2 separate regions of the Homo sapiens genome follow, and region 2 is linked to region 1. Evidence: promoter capture Hi-C in 16 types of primary human blood cells and fetal thymus (Javierre and others, 2016). All regions are on one chromosome and are shown on one strand. Each heading gives the region's core, a stretch centred on a gene start or on the middle of the fragment in contact. The rest is flanking DNA. Distances are from core to core; before and after follow the strand shown.

The links. The method cuts DNA at HindIII sites, captures the fragments that hold promoters and counts their contacts. A CHiCAGO score of 5 or more calls a contact.
Region 2: a fragment that was not itself captured here is called in contact with the fragment with the promoter of VPS45 in region 1 in 2 of 17 cell types (M2 macrophages and fetal thymus); the score reaches 5.8 in M2 macrophages.

Annotation. Positions count from the first base shown.
Region 1 is chr1:150,066,465-150,069,166 of GRCh38, forward strand. VPS45 (vacuolar protein sorting 45 homolog) reads left to right here and starts at 1,312. Exons shown (of 15, transcript NM_007259.5): 1 at 1,312-1,486; 2 at 2,166-2,300. The coding sequence starts at 1,394. It also overlaps a transcript of OTUD7B not described here. RefSeq lists a silencer at 489-728 and an enhancer at 939-1,268. The HindIII fragment of the contact is 1,692 bases long and covers 1-1,630 here.
Region 2 is chr1:150,372,179-150,374,880 of GRCh38, forward strand. All of the region lies in intron 1 of RPRD2 (regulation of nuclear pre-mRNA domain containing 2), which reads left to right. Among named protein-coding and RNA genes, the nearest start is that of RPRD2, 9.4 kb to the left of the region's middle. The HindIII fragment of the contact is 1,417 bases long and covers 651-2,067 here.

The DNA.
Region 1 (2,702 bases), core at 62-2,561:
TGACAAAAATCTCTTATATTTCAGTAGTTTCTGATCTCCCTTAAGGGATTTGAGAATTATATATAATATTGCATAATCTTAAGCTGATTAATGTTAAAGTGCTATTGGTCTATTTTAACTGTGTACTTCTTAAAATATAATGAAAGAATTTATTTGGTAATCCTGAATCTATTGACCTCACAAACACTGGTCATTATTTTGGTGGAAATATTCATAAGCATTTTTAGTTACTGATTTCTAACAATTGTTTCTTATTATCTTCCTGATTTTACAATTCCCCAAAGTAAAGGTGCGAAAAACAAACATCTACCCTCCTTTTCGACAAATGCCATGATAGAGGGGAGACCTGTGTGGTGTAAAGACAAATGCAGACATTTGGAAGTTGATGGTTTTAAGATTCAGTAAAAACTTGAGAGTTTTGGCTTCAAATCCCCACGCTAGTTTTAGTTCTACCGGATACGTGTCCCCTACCCATTTCAAAGGACCCAGTCACCTCGGCTCTTGCCTGAGTTTCAGAGTCCCGCCGGAGTTAGAGCTGGCAGAGTCCAATTGCTCAGAGCGCCGAGGCGGGGGCGGGGCAGGGGGACGCTTGCAGGTCCGGTGGTCCCGCGGGCTGCGAGCCCCCACGGCCGACCCTAGCTGCAGACCCTCCTGGAGAACCTCAGGCCTTTCCCCCAGAAACATCCCTAAAAGGCGTTCCCTTTGTTCATTCATTCAACAAATATTTGTTCAATCTCATATGCCCCTCTGTCTTGGGAAAACCAATTAGGGCCTCTGCAGCCTCAACACAGGGGCACTGTTCCCGCCTATTAATGACGCAATGAACCCGGGAAGACGAATCTCGACCACTGTTTCGCAAATACCGCGTGTGATTTATTAAATGCCGTCTCTCCGAGTCCCAAGCGGCCGGGAGCATTATGCCACCTCCCTTGCCCTCATCTCTCACTGCCATGCAAGAAAGCGTTAATGGCAAATAGGGCACGTAGCCACACTCCGTCGTTCCTGCTTCCAAGCAAACCTTGTGCCAGGTTCCTCATTTCGCGAGGCTCCACTCTCTTGGGCTTCAGGCTGCCGCTGGGCCTCCAGCACCAAAGGGCAATAGGGGTCTGAGAGTCCGGGCCTCAGGCATCTTCAGGCCGCAGGTGGGTGGAGAATAACGCCCGCGCGTGGCAGCGGCCCAGGCCGTCTCAGCCGGATTTTTCCATCCCCGGGGTAGGCTTGGTCCCCTGTACACTCCAGCGGAACTACAACTCCCAGCACCGTGGCTGCCCGGACTCCCGGAAGCCGAATCCCGGCTGGGAGGAAGCAGCTGAGACCCGGCCAACAGACTGGGGGTTAATTTAGCCAGAAAAGGGGGCGGGAAGGGCTGTAGGGTACTTGTCAATTCGCCGCCATGAACGTGGTTTTTGCTGTGAAGCAGTACATTTCCAAAATGATAGAGGACAGCGGGCCTGGTATGAAAGTACTTCTCATGGATAAAGAGACGGTGAGTTTGCTTTTGCTCAGCATTTGTGAAGGAACCCTCTCAACCTTACAATTGCTCGTCCCATTCCACTGTAGGACTTAGCATTTAATTAAACATACGAAAATGAGGGTCGGTTTGTGTGGAATTGAAAAGTTGTTTATATAAAGCTTGCCCGGTGGGTTTTCAGTCTACATGGCTCCAGCCACTGCCTAGAGACTACTTCTACCCGGAACAATTTATTGGAATCAGAAATCCTTTTCTAAATGTCCCCGCCAAGAAATCATTAATATGTCAGAGCACTTGGAAGGCTTTGGGATGGGCCTACTGTTTCCACTCAACATTGTGTTTTTAAAGTAAAGCTGTTGGAGCTCAAGCTGAAATGACAGATTATTTGTTGGCCACAGACCAGAAAACAAAACTCTTTAAGGTGATAGAAAAAAATATTTTTGGAAACTTATGGATTGTTCCTGTTCAAAGAGACCATGTTTTTTGTTTTTAATCTTGAAGCTTCAGCTGAAAGGATAGAGCGTATTTTTCATTCTCGTATGTTACCTACCTGTTTGGATGTTCAGTAAATGTTTTCCGTATATTACTATTTAAGTTATCCAGCTAAGTATTAATGAAAAAAGAGGGTTAGATGTGCTACTTGTTTTTATTATTCTAGACTAGCATACTTTTAGTTAATCTTTTGTTTTTACAGACTGGCATAGTGAGTATGGTATACACACAATCGGAGATTCTACAGAAGGAAGTGTACCTCTTTGAACGCATTGATTCTCAAAATCGAGAGATCATGAAACACCTGAAGGCAATTTGTTTTCTTCGACCTACAAAGGTACTGCATAAACTGAGCTTCCATCTGCCCAGGCAGATGCAGAACACTCTGATCTGAAAGCATTAAGAAGGCAAAATAAATTTGTATTATCATAATTTGTGGCATCATAATTATCCTGGTTCATCAGTGTTATAACCTTCATTTTTCTTGTTTTGTTTCCATATTTCAGTTGACCCCTTACAGCCAGTTCTTCCTTCAAGATGTTTTTTAGGTTCACAGCCATTCCCATTGCCACTAATGAACTACTCTTAACGGAGACCCACATTACTTTATTCCTGGATTAACCTCCGTATCTGTCACATTGAACACCATCAACACTTAATTTTATATACAGCTATGAGTGTCTTGAATCTTTGCCACTTTATTCACATTTATGCTCAGGAACCTGTGGTGGCTTGATGT
Region 2 (2,702 bases), core at 109-2,608, 310 kb after region 1:
TAACTTTGAGCTCTAAGATGAAATTTGTTTATAAATCCCTAGTTTCCATTCAGTTTTTTCAATATTTATCAAACACCTACTGTGCCAGGCATTGTTTAGGCACAGGGGATACAGCAGGAGAACAAAATGAACAAAATTTTTTGCCTTCACAGAGCTTAAAATTTAGCCGGGCTTGGTGGTGCACACCTGTGGTCCCAGCTACTTGGGAGGCTGAGGCAGGAGAATTGCTTGAACCCGGGAGGCAGAGGTTGCAGTGAGCCATGATCATGCCAGCCTGGGCAACAGAGTGAGACTCCGTCTGAAAAAAGAAACACACACACACACACAGACACACACACACACAAAGACAGCATATACTCTAGTAAGGGGAGACAGACAGCAAACAGATAAGTAAAATATTAAACATAATAGAAGGCGATAAATGCTCTAGAGAAATAGAAAGCAGGGAAGGGGGAAACAGAGGGGTTTGCAGTTTTACATTAAATGGTAAGGGAAGGCCTCACTGAGAAGGTGACATCTGAGTAAGGAGGTATGATATTAAGCAATATAGACATGAGGGTATGAGGTGGGCATGTTCAAGACTAAGTGAACAGAAAAAACAAAAGTCCTGAGGTTAGAGTGTGCCTGGTGAGTTTAGGGAGCAGCAAGAAAGCTTCTGTGACTGGAAAGGAGTTGTTAAAATGAAGATTAGTGGATGAGTTCAAAGAGATTATGGTGGGTGGTGTTGGGGAGGGGTGAAATGGGATTCACCAAGGGTTTTATAGGCATTGTAAGGACTTTGGTTTTTATTCAGAGTGAGATGGTGAGCCATTTAAGCAAAAGGAGATGAACTCTTTTTTTTTCTTTTTTTTTTGAGACGGAATTTTGCTCTGTTGCTCAGGCTGGAGTGCAATGGCACCATCTCGGCTCACTGCAACCTCTGCCTCCCGGGTTCAAGCGATTCTCCTGTCTCAGCCTCCTGAGTAGCTGGGATTACAGGTGCATGCCACCATGCCCAGCTAATTTTTGTATTTTTAGTAGAGACAGGGTTTCATCATATTGGTCACGCTGGTCTCGAACTCCTGACCTCAAGTGATCCGCCCGCCTCAGCCTCCCAAAGTGCTGGGATTACAGGCGTGAGCCACCACGCCTGGCACTCGTTTGTTTTTAAAAGGTTATTCTTGTTTCTGCTGGAACAGGGATACCAATTAGATGGCTATTGTAATCCAGTGTAAAATATTGATGGCTTGGACCAGGTTATGGCCAGCGGAAGTGATAAGTAATTTAATTCTAGATCTATTTTGAAAGTAGGTCCAGCCAGATTTCTAGGTGGATTAAATGTGGGGTGAGAGAGGAGGAGAATAATCAAGAATGACTTTTTTTTTTTTTTTTTTTTTAGCTTGAGCAACTAGAAAGATAAGAGTTGACATTTATTGATATGGGGAAGGCTGTGAGTGGAGCAGATTTTGGGAAGAAGATGAGAAATTTAGTTTTGGATGTGTTAGGTTTGGGATGTCTATTTTAAGAAATCTTTTTTAAAGATATAATTCACAAAAAATATACTCATTTAAAGTGTACAATTCAATTGTTTTAGTATATTCATAGAGTTGTTCAGCAATCACCATAGCGTGTCTAGTATATGGATTGTTTTTAGAGCCAGGAAGCTGGAAGAGATCAACTAGAGAGAGAGTGTAGATAGGGAAGTAAGTCTAGTAAGATAGAGCAGCAAGTACAGATATAGAAGAGGTCCAGAGAGAAGGCTATGGTATTATGAAATCTCTATTTGGTCTCTGTCCCATTTCCTGGCATACTACTTCAAAAATCCTTGGGTCTTCAAGGTGATAAGTGTCATTTTGTATGCTAATGAGTTGACTGATGGTTGGCATCCCCTGGGTAGCCTAAGGATGGGGGCTGGTCACTGGAAAGAATAAGGCAGGACTAGAGGTTGTGACTTTCCGCCCTACCATCTAACCTCTGGGGAAGGGAGAAGAGCTGAAGGGGTAAACTGAACACCAGTGGCCAGTGGTTTAATTAATTATGCCTTCATAACGAAACTTCCATAAAAATCCAAAAGGACTGGTTTTGGGAAGCTTCTAGACAGCAAAACATATGGAGGTTCCTGGAGGTTGGCATGCCCAGAAAGAACCTAGAAGCTCTGCACTCTTAGCCCTACCTTGCCCCCTCCATCTCTTCATCTGGTGTTCATTGGTGTCCTTTGTTATGTCCTTTATAATTAACCAGTAAACGTGTTTCCCTGAGTTCTGTGAGCTGCTCAAGCAAATTAATGGAACCCAAGAAGGGGGTTGTGTGAGCCCCGATTTATGGTGGTTGGGTCAGAGCAAATGTTAACCTGAGATTTGTGATTGGCATGGGAAGTGGGGGGCAGTCTTGTGAGACTGAGCACTCAGTCTGTGGGATCTGATGCTCTCTTCCAGTGTCAGAATTGAATTGGAGGGCACCTAGCTGGTGTTCATTGCAGAATTGCTTGCTTGGTGTGTGTGGGGAGAACTCTCATACATTTGGTCAAAGAAGTCTTTGTTGATTGTTGAATGAGAATGTAGGAAAAGCACTTTTAAGTTTGTTTATTCTCTATTCTCAGAAGGCTGTTGGGGCATTCTAGTATTTTAGATGACTCTTTCTACTTAGTCTAGTGTGTTATTGGCTTAGGTTCTTTTTGAGGTTCAAGGTAAACTTTGTCTCAGCCCCCCAAAGAAGTAATAAAT